2 separate regions of the Homo sapiens genome follow, and region 1 is linked to region 2. The links are contacts of gene promoters, found by promoter capture Hi-C in blood cells and fetal thymus (Javierre and others, 2016). All regions are on one chromosome and are shown on one strand. Each heading gives the region's core, a stretch centred on a gene start or on the middle of the fragment in contact. The rest is flanking DNA. Distances are from core to core; before and after follow the strand shown.

The links. Contacts are between HindIII fragments. The CHiCAGO score rates a contact against its expected background, and 5 or more counts as called.
Region 1: a contact is called between a fragment that was not itself captured here and the fragment with the promoter of SGMS1 in region 2, in 15 of 17 cell types (M0 macrophages, total B cells, erythroblasts and 12 more). The highest score is 15.8, in M0 macrophages.

Annotation. Positions count from the first base shown.
Region 1 is chr10:50,417,205-50,422,792 of GRCh38, forward strand. The region is part of intron 6 of SGMS1 (sphingomyelin synthase 1); the gene reads right to left. Among named protein-coding and RNA genes, the nearest start is that of ASAH2, 170 kb to the left of the region's middle. RefSeq lists a silencer at 957-1,236. The HindIII fragment of the contact is 1,294 bases long and covers 2,227-3,520 here.
Region 2 is chr10:50,621,411-50,626,895 of GRCh38, forward strand. It overlaps SGMS1 (sphingomyelin synthase 1), which reads right to left and starts at 2,546. Exons shown (of 11, transcript NM_147156.4): 1 at 2,297-2,546. SGMS1-AS1 (SGMS1 antisense RNA 1) reads left to right here and starts at 3,541. Exons shown (of 4, transcript NR_126411.1): 1 at 3,541-3,781; 2 at 5,260-5,395. RefSeq lists enhancers at 594-753, 1,304-1,703, 2,415-2,943 and silencers at 1,894-2,233, 2,494-2,753, 2,802-2,959, 3,084-3,713. The HindIII fragment of the contact is 12,791 bases long and covers 1-5,485 here.

The sequences.
Region 1 (5,588 bases), core at 1,624-4,123, 200 kb before region 2:
AATAAGTTACTTGGCATCATACAACTGCACTAATTTCTTATGTAGAAAAGCGGGTTTTTTAAGTGGCTCACTGGACTTATTTCTACATAAATTTAAAAGCGGTAACTCAATTGGATAAAAATGTTATGATAAATATTTGTAGCATTCAGGGTAACAGAATTTAGGTCTCCAGATTTCCTATTTTGGTATAACTACACAAAACAAACACAAAAATAAAATAAAATAAAATAAAATAAAATAAAATAAATGTCATGCATTCTTCTCCATGTATTTATTGACAAATTCCACAAGAGCGATTACCTGGCCACACTAAATAGAAAGCACAGTTATGGAGTAAACACACTCAGTCCAAAACACAGGGGCACGTGCATCCTTGTGGCACTTAGTACCAAGCTCATTCACAAGCCAGCTTCCAACCAACCAAAGGAGTTGCCAAAAGGGCTGTTTCGTACAGGGACTGGAGTTTGAGAAAGTGAGTACTTCCCCAAAACTTAATAACCAATCTGTAGACACAATCCCGTTCTCTCAAAAACTGCCATTAGGAAGACTTGATAACCCCAAACAGAAACCACCCCCTACCCTTGGTTCTCATGCCACGGCAGTTAGCATCACGCAATATAAAGAGCATTTGTTGACTGATCCTACCCATATCCTGACCCACTGCTTCAGCAACTGCACTGAACCTTCTCAGGTGTAAATAGCTAGTGCCTATTTGATCATTAAAGCAGGATGCAGGAAAAATAAAGATTTCCCTTTACTTCGCCGTAGTAGAATTGGCACTGATTGCGGTATTTTAATCGGTTCACACCGTCTGTTAGTGTATTCTAATGAACCACAGCATCTCCGGAGCAACACTTACGGTCTCTCGTCCCCGGAGGCAGTGTCTCCTGGAAAGTTCCTGGGGCACCAAGTTTGCGCGCGGCTCCTCGCGCTCAGGGTGCGCGCAGCCAGCCCTGGCGCGGGCGGAAAGGCGAGCGCGCTGAGCGGCGCGCAGACCCCGGGCGCGGCTCTTGCTGGGCGCCCGCGCCTTGATCGGTCCCGGCGGTCCCGTTCCCCTGCTTGCCGGGCCCTGGTGCTAGGACAGCGGCGCTGCGGAGCCCGGCGTCTGGAGCTGGCGGGCGGCCGGATGCGCCGATCCTCTCCCGGGGGGTCAACTGCGAGCTAGACGCCCAGCCGGACCTCAGAGGCTCCAAGAGCGGGGTTGGCGGGTGTGGCCCGGCAGCAGAGGGTTTTTGGAATGCAGGGTGTGGCCCTCTACCACGGCAAAAAAGAAATGAGTCAGCCCGTTCAGTCCTAACCAATAAGCATGTTCAGTGTCGGTTAAGGCGGAACTTTCCTTTCTTGATTTATACCAAGCTTAGAAGCCTTTCACAGCCTTTTCTTTACGCCTTTGACAACTTCGACACAACTTCTAGAAAAGGGTAGGTTGCCTTTGAAAACGCTTGGGAAACAAGGATTAATCTTACGAAAGATACTTCAGTGGATGTACATTAGTTTCGATTAGTAAAAGTTTTTGAGTTAGGCAGAGATACTGGGTGCAAAGAGGTGGGACCTGGTATCAAAGCAGATTTGGATCAGACCTCTGACACTGTGTGGCCTTGAGTAAGTTAATTATCATCAATGAGGGGGCTAAAATGCCCACCTAACAGTTTACAGATTACAACAGTCCCCCCATATGCAGTTTCTCTTTCTGCTGTGTCCGTTACCCCGCCCCTTCAGTTGCAGTCTGAAAATATTAAATGGAAAATTCTAGAAATAAGCAATGCATAAATTTTAAATTTCATGTCATTCTGAGATTGTTAAAATTGTTATATTTTATTATTAGTTACTGTTAATCTCTTACTGTGCCTAATTTATAAGTTAAACTTCACCATAGGTATGTATAGGAAAAATCATAGTATATATAGGGTTCAGGACCATCGAGATTTCAGGCATCCACTGGGGGCTTTGGAACATACATACCATCTGAAGATAAGGGGGGAACTACTGATTATGTAACAATGCATGCAAAGCATTTACCACAGTGCTGGACAAAGAGTAGGCACTCAAAAAATGCTGTCTTGTCCCTCTGAGTCCTGAATCCGAATCTCCAAAATTGTAAACAAACTGGCTCGTAATTTTCAAAAATTCTTTCCTATGTTAAATATCTAAAGAATTTTAGAGCTGAAATAGTTCTCTGGTATTCCCTGGTCTGAGTCCCTCATTTAAGTGGTGAGAAACTTAAGAAGCTTTAGGTTCAGGATTCTTGAATTTGGTATTCTTACTATACAATAGAAAGTTTATTGGTAGCAAATAGGCTTAAAATTGGAATGATTTCATTTAGGTCACAGGTGAACCTACTTTTAAAAAAGTAAGAGTGATTTGTGGAAATATTCCATCTGAGTCACTGTGCCCTAAACATTATTTTGTAATAAAAATACTTAAAAGAAACTTTATTTGGGAATTGGCAAATTACAGGGGGCTGCAGAAGTGCTAATTCCTGAGGTCCCATTAAGAAATGAGTTGATTGCTATTGCCAAAAGAGAATTTCTAGATGGGAAGAAAAAAATGTTAAGTTACAAATTAAACGTTCTTTGCTTTGGAGATCTCCTGAGCAAAGATCTCTTTGGAGATCTTTCTCATACATGTTTAGAGTCATTCCACAGGCCAAGGTTTCTTGAAAATACTCATTAGCCAAAGATAAGATCTAAAGTGAGATCAGCAAAATGCTGTTCTTTTCTCCAAAGCAGCACGGGAGAGTGGAAAGAACACTGCACAAAAAGCCAAGAGCTCCCTTCCTAGTCTCAGCTCTGCCAGTAAGTGACAGGGTGAACTGACTGCTTCATCTCTCTCTGAGGATCTCTAAGAGTGTTTCCAGTTGGAAACCAAACTATGGTCAAAAGAGCAGAAGCAAGATCGGCCTATAGCCTCACATTTATCCTTAGCAACAGGTACTTAAGTTGGGCCTGTCTCCTAGATGATGAAGCTGTCAAATCTCTCTTGACTCTCATATTCCTCATAAAGGTAATGTTACTCTCCTAGACACTTCAAGTTAAATTCTGGAATCATCTGAGCTCCCTCTTTTCTCTCTTAATGGTTCACTACCAATAGGCGTAACATGAAGGCTTCTTTCATATCTGGACCATTTTTTCCATTCCTGGTTCAGGCATTCGTCCCCTCTGCCTGAGTCACTGAGGTTGAGTGTCTTCTAGCCGCTGTTCCAGCAGGCGGGCCCCTCCCTCTATGCCTCTCAACACATCATCATCATCATCACATGACAAATGTCAAAGTCGAGCATGCCATCATGTCATAAACCTTTTCCTCTCAGTCAATTAAATAATTTTATAGTAGAGATCAAAAGGAACACAATTTGCTTTACGGGCAGCTTTCCTCAAACATTCATGTAAATTAATGTGTATTTTTAAGAGCACTGATATTTTATATTTATGTAATTGTTACAATGAGCTATACTGGCTGAACTGATAATATGTTGGCTATTATATCAAGGACAGCAGCTCTTTTACATGAGAAGACTACATAAAGCTTAAGTGTATATGAACAACTCCATAAACTTAACACTGCAGTCTAAAAAATACAATTGTGTTTGTGTGTGTGTGGACACAGAGAGATACTTTGAGATCTATGATGGAGAAAGGGAAAGGCAGCACAGACAGGAAAGAGAGATGATCTAGTTTGTTAGTATTGTTTAGGATCCAGCCAAGCTTAACATTCAGAGTAGGTGTTCTCTCCAGGAAGAAGGAAGGCTTCATAAATATGTTTGGCTGCAATCATAACTCAAAGCACTTGAAAGATGTTTCCAATAATCCTTATGCTTCAGAAATAAGAACAACACAATGACCAATGTGGTTAGAACATTCCCACAAGAGAACAGGATAACTGGTTCTAGGATGCCTTTGTTGTCTAAAATTAAAATTTAAAGTACACGGATTCTCAACATATAGTTATCAAAAAAAAGTGACGGTGAAACTACGGGTCCAGTGCCATGACATTTATAGGCACTCAAAGCCTTGCCTCTACCTCTGCAACCCCGATCTTAAAAACCCTCTGCCAAATAACCCGCTGGTCCACTCCTTGTTCCCCTAAAGCTGAGGGCACATTACTACCACCATACCTAGGGATAGTGAGTGCTTACCATTTTATGTTGCCTTGACATCCACTTTAAATATAGGTTTAACTTTCTCAGAATCAGGGCTCAGTCACCCTTGACAGTTTCAAATTCCATTCCCCACCTGAATGGCTCCCACTGGTGGCAGGAAATAAAACTGAAGAGACCCAAGTCCTGCCTAGCAGGCTGGGCTCCTCACTTTCCCACCACTTCCTTAAACAGACCGTTCAGACATTTGCTTGCAAATTTAAACTGACCACCTCTCAGTCACAACAGGACCTCCTGGAACTAGCACCTGCTTGCTTTAAACCTACCAATTAAAGCTCCCCTTAGGAAACATATTTGGATAACACACTGGACCCTAATAAGATGGTGGCCCATGGGTCTCTTTATCTCTGCCTGTGCTCCCTGGCCTATGTAGTGGAGACGGTGGGGGCCTCCGAGTGTGCCATGTACACTCGAGGGTCTAAAAATTCTTAACTTTCACATTGTAGTTGGGAGCCATGCTCATCCCTGGTGGAGAGGCTGCCCCAAAGGGACCCATGCAGGTGGCTCCCATGTTGGTGCTCTTTAGTCCAGGCCTCTCAGCTGCTGGGTGGTTACCAGCTAAGGTGACAGAGTTTCATTCAAAGCACTAGGCTCACACCATGCCCCCTGCCTGACAACCTTCTTGCATTCTTTTTAGTACATATCCCATTCCAGACCACTGAAACCCTTTCTTCTCCTAGAACTTTTGTCACTGGCAAAAGCCCTGGGGAATCTCTCCTCTCCTCCAAATACCTACAGATCTTATTCTTTATACTTCCATTTCACAACTAACATAGGATCTTAGCATCCTTCCTTCTTTTTGAGATCCCTGACCTTTCACTCTCAGCAGACAGTGGAAATCCATCTGAGGTAGACGTGTTTCCGAGCATCTGTATCCCCCAGGGCCTAGCAGATTCTGCATAAATAGTCATTGTTGTGAATATAATGATGCTTAAGTTATATAACAGCCACAAAGGAGAAAAGAAAACGTTCCCTTTGACTGCTGACACATCAAGAATAAACAAATATTATAGCTGTTCAAACCAGTTGGCAAGCAGAACCCAAGCAGCAGATGCGTTTCTGTGCTCTTTGTGGCATGTTCCAACAATACAGAATGCTACTGAGACAGCAAATCTGATACTTCCTAAAAGGAAGTGGAGTTTACAAAACAGAGTTTTCATGTAAAATCCCAGTTCCCCAAACACGAATCCACTGTGGAGAACAGAAGCAACAAGTCATTCGATCTTCCCTTTCAAGTAAGGAACACATAGATACATATTTGATAATCTTGCCAAAGTACCAATTCCTCCTTAAATGTAAACATCACTCTCAACCACAAACATCTATTTACCAACAGGTGCTCCTAACCATAATGGTAGCAAAGGACAGTTCTTCAAGACAATTCATAAATCCTAGAACTGTCATAGGTATACATTTATTATATGGCATTTGCATT
Region 2 (5,485 bases), core at 1,296-3,795:
TTTAAATGTCAATGTGCAAAGGTATTGATGCATATATTTTACTCTAACCATATTAATACAGACTTAAAAATAGATGATGAACATGGTAAATACTGGTAAACTCTTCTGTTATGAAGAATTTTTAAAATTTCAGCTGCAGAGGCATGTATTGAATACAAGTTAGACACTGTGCAAGATGCTAGAAATCTTCCAATGAGTAAGATACTGGTTTAATAACCGTGTCCCTCTGATGTCAATTTAATACATCTCTGGAGTTAATGTCTTTTATTAAAAAGTTTCCGGAAATTTCAAATAGCTCACTATCATCACTGAAGAGTTGCAGAAATGTATCTTATTATTTTACTAAAAACATAAATTTCTATTCTGTGAAGCAGAAATGGAAGGAAAGGCCACTTCACTGTTTTTACATATCACTGTCACTTTCTGCAGAGTAACTACTTAAAACTGCATGGCGGCAGCAGCCACCCCACTGCTACCCAGCAGGTCACAGAGATGCAGAGACTCAAAAACATGCTATATATTGCTGTATATTTTAAGAGGCGCAGTAAGGAAACTCGAAATACCAGGGCCTCCAGAGCTAAACAGGAAGCAAGATAAGACAAGTGAGCTGCCACAGGCAGAAGGCAGCACCTGGAGGTTCCCCCAAAGCTGGCGCCTCCGACAGCAGGCACAGGCTGCTGCTTGCTTGCTTGCTTGCTTCTTTGCTTGGCCACGGCATGTCTTCAGAGCTGGAAGGCTGCCACCTGCTGAATCACCAAACATCCCTGGGCTTCCCTTGGAGCACTGACCAGACAGGCACCCATCCCCCGCAGCCTTCGCCCGTGGACGTTTCACACCCCGACCAATGAAACGCCCCGCCCTCTCCCCTTCTGCACAGGCCAAAACAGCCGCCAACCCCTTTCCATCTGGGCAGCTCTAGGCAACACCCATCGCGTTCCTACGTCACCAGTCCCACTCCTCTCCTTCGGCCCACTCAGTCCCCCCTGAATGTTTCAACCCCCAGTGCCAGGAAGCGTGGGGAGTTCACAGCACAGCACATCAGACATTCGCCACTTCCACATCCAGGGAGCCAACTAGAAACATCCCCAAACCTAAAAGCAAAATAACCTGTCCAAACAGCTTTAAAGGTCCAGGAAGATAAATGTCAAGGGAGCTAAAATAGTCGACAGGCCCCAGAACATAGAAAATAAACTTCCCTTTCAGAAAGCAGCCTTCACTTGGTTTCGTAAGCGTGTACCGCTGAAGTCTGTACTGTTTGAAGGTGAAAAGAAACATCTGAGAAGCACCTGCCTGGATTCTCTTCGCTCCCTCCGGCCATGACAACCCTTATCCCGATTTCTACTTCGCGGCACCAAAGAGGAAAGCAGCATTCACCAGAACGCTCCAGGCTGAATCCGTTAGCTGGACTAGGGCACTCTATCCGGCCCACGGGAGGACGCCACAAGCCCGAGTTCGGGTTAAGACGGTGGGAGAGGCAGCCGCTGCTGCTGCTGTTTTGCCCTTGACACGTCGCTGGGGGATAGCGCAGACCCCCTCTGTCACGGAAAAGCGGCGTCCTGGAGAGACTGTCCAGTTCTGGGCTGCGCCGATTCCCCTCCAGGCCTTGCCCCTAAACGTCCCCGCCCCGCGGGGGCAGCCCTGCGGGGTCTCAGAGCCGCCCGCGAGCCTGGCGGGCTGTTACGCGGCCTGGAGAGAAGGGGAGCGCTCCTCGGGGAGGGGGGGTCCCACCTGTTTTGTCGTCAGGGGGCATCGAGGGGCTACGGTGGGGGGATCCCGAAATAGTGGGCGCCTGGCCGGCTGCGATCTGGACCGAAGGTACCAACTGTCACACCGCCACCTAGGCTGTGGGGGTGGAGCCGTGATTGGAGTCGGCCCCTGGGTGGGGGTCTCCGGACCCCGGGCGGGCTACTGCCCAAAGGCTCCCCGCCTCCCGATCGCCCCAATCCGACACCAGGCAGCCTTCCAGCCCGCACGCAGTAGCTCTGAAAAGGTGCCCACTGACGCCTCCTCCTTCCTCCCCGCCCCAACTTAGCCGGGGAGCCCCGCCGGCGGCCCGCCCCCTCCGAGCCCGGATCCCGGCCGCCGGACCTCCCCGCTGTGACCACCCACGGGAGCAGCAGCTCTGGAGGACTGCCCGCCAGGTACGCGCGCGGCACCGCGCGGGCTGCGCTCACGCCCCCTCGCCCCAGAGCAGCCCGCCCGCTGCTCCCCGGCATAAGGCCGGGCCCGCGAGACAGGTGTCCGATCGGCCCCCGCAACCGTGAGGCCGGCTGTCTGTCCCTGCCCCACGACTCACTTGCACTGGAGTCACGGCAGCCGCCGGAATTCCGCTCGCGGAGCCCCCGCCGCGGAATGAAATCCGGGGCAGGGCAGCGTCGGGGCTCCGCACCCCAATCGCGCTCTCCGACCGGCTCCCTAGGCGCGAGGGGAGAGCAGTCAGCCCAGGCCGGTCCTTCTCACTCCCGACCTGCCCGCCGCCTGCCGCCCGCAGCCGCTGCCCCGCTGGTGCGAACGCTTTCGACTTGCCACCGCGAGCCTCCCGGGCTGCCGAGCATGCCCAGTCCGCTGCCCGAGCCGGCCCGGCTTCCCGCGCGACGCGACTCCGCTCCTCCGGGTGTTCACTGCGGCCGGGGGGGCGGGCCGGCCGGGCGGGGTCCGCGGGGGGCTCCTCCCGGGACCGAGCGGGACCCCGAACCAAGGGACAGTCGCAGTTTGGGCCCCTTGAATTTTACTTTCAAGTAATGGGAAACTGAGGAGGCGGGCGCTTTCCCCAGCGTTTTTAGGGGCCCACTAAGTAAGGCCTAGCGGGAGCCAGATTTTACAATCTGGGACGGTAAATCCCTTGGGGCAGGGCCGGAGACGGGAGCCGCTAGAGCTGGTCACAAAGCAGGGAACGCAAACTCAGCCTGCTGGAAGCCAGGCACGAGTTTGCGAACTACTACTGGATTCTTTTTCCCACCAAGCCCAAGGGCTGCGACACTTGGGATTAATGCCCAATGGATCATTCCTAGGAAACGGCCGACCTGACTATTCGGCCCATTTTCAAACCTCTAACCATAGACTCTCATCTTTCTCCCACAACAGAAAAAAAAAGCCTCTGGCGACGCCTGGGAGCGCGACGGAGGCGCAAGAGCTCTAACCGCGCGAGGTGAAAACTCCGACTGCGTCAGAGCCGCCCCGCCCCGCCTGGGGCCCACCTTCCGCCGCCCCTCCGAGCTGCGGCGAAAACCCGGAGAGCGGCTAGGCCGGGGTCGGAGCCCGCGCATGCCCAGTAGCCCCACGTGGTGCAAGTCGCCTGAAGGAAGGTTTTCCTCTGCTCCCCGAGCGAAGCCCCAGCGCCCAAGTTAGGATGGACAGCGGGGAGAGCTGGCCTTCCCGCCCCGATGCCCGCCGTCCCTGGCCGGCCCGCGCCGCACCTCGGTGGCCTACAGGCAGCCCGAGGCCGTGCCTCCCGCGGGGTCGGGGACTTGGCGAGCGGGGGAAGGGGCGCGGCTACGGGCCCGGCGTACCACGTGACTGTCCGCGGCGCTCCGGGCAGCCATCTTCCGCCCGGCCATCGGGCCGCGGGCGCTCGGAACCGACCTGGGAGCTGGCGGGACCGTCCTCCCCCGCCACGCCCTCCCATCGGGCTTTGGGCGCCGGACTCTGGCCACCGCTCGGCACCTGCCTCCGCCTCGCCTTGGGGTATAGGAGTCCTGTACCGACCCCTGGCTTGCCCAGAGGACAGGTTCTCGCCCGGGCCAGAAGCAAACTGCGGCGAAATCGAGACAACAGAACTCAGGTGGCGGAGGGTCCCCGCTTTTCCCCAGAGGCGGAAGTTGGCGAGGGAGTCCTCTTCCGTTATCCAGCGAGAGCGCTGCTCTGGCTGCCTCCCGGTTCTAACCTAGTCCCTGCAGAGGAGTGATGTACCGGCAGGGACATTGGACAGAGGCCGTGCTCTTCCCTGCAGCGCATACCCCGCGGCCCCTGCTGGTGGGCCGCTTCGATGGTGCTGAGGTTCATAGTGAATATTTATTGAGCGCCTGCCTCGAGTCCCTTGGGTTTCCTGTTGTCTCGGGACCTGCCGCGTCACTATCACCCTAGAATTTGTTAGAAATGCACGTTTTCGGCCCCACCTAGACCTACAGAACCAGAAACTGCGGGTGGAGTCCTGCAATATGATTAACAAAGCCCTCCGGGTAGTTGTCATGGACGCCTCTATATTTCAGCTAAGCAGTCCATTTTAATAAGCTAGGCAGTGAAAATTTCCATAGTTTTCCCCAAAGCACAGTGAGGAGTCAGGGATTCAAAATGAGGCAATCTGCCCCAATGCAGGCGTTTTATTGCACCCTCCACTCCTGGCTCCTCTGGTTTTTTCGCCCGTAAGACACAGTACTGCTCTTCTCAGGAAGATTAGGAAAGTACATTTGTCACATACGCTTTTCAAGCACGGCTTTAAAATAACAACTGAAATTCAGTTCAACTGCATGTTTTGAGTATCTACTGGGAGCAAGGCTCTGTGAAGTATAGTAGCCCTACTGGTTATGTTTATCAGTTTGCACCTAAAAGGTGAAAGGAAGGCTTGCTTTCTTGTGATGTAAATTTTTTCAAACTAAGGGAGTGCCAGAAAACTGCTGGCTGCTTTCTCTCCCGTGTTGGTTTCTCTCCAGTGCTATCCAGAATATGCTGTAAGCTCTGGACTTCCTGAAACAAAGGTCCAAGTAAGCATCTGGTCTTTGATGTACTTTAAAATGCACCCCACCCCCACATGAAAGATAACTAAATTTTTCAAAATATTAATACTTCTTGAATGTAAATCGTGTGTCTAAGGTACTGGCATAATTTTTTTTTTCAAATTTTCTATATGTTTGAAATGTTTCATAATAAAATCCTTTTAAATTTTTTTCCATGTGTAATTTTAGGATGATATATATATAGCACATGGAAAAAAGCAGGGCATAGAAGTATTTCCACTTTAATTTCAGTTTCATAAAATCAGAGAGAAAAAGTCATAGATATATACACCATACATAAAAAATAAAAGCGTAAATAAATACAGAAAGAAATCTAAAGAGAAATCACCATAGCAGTAAAAGTAAATTCTGTGTGAAGTGGTTATAAGAGACACTAAGAGTTGCCCCTCCTTGAAATTATATTTAGTTATGGTCCTTAAGTCACTATTATTTGTAACCAAAAAAAAAAATTGAATAAAAATAGTTCTCCCTCTTTAGTCCATCCAATCCTAAAGAATTTTTATCAGTGCCCTTTCTTTTTCTTCAGAGTCACTCTGTCACCCAGGCTGGAGTGCAGTGGCACCATCACAGCTCCCTGCAGCCTTGACTTACAGGGCTCCAGTGATCCTCCACCCTCAGCCTCCTGAGTATCTGAGACCACAGGTGCAAGCCACCATGCCCAGGTAATTTTTTATTTTTGGCCGAGGCTGTTTCATCATGTTGCCCAAACTGGCCTTGAACCCCTGAGCTCAAGTAATCCACAGGCCTCCGCT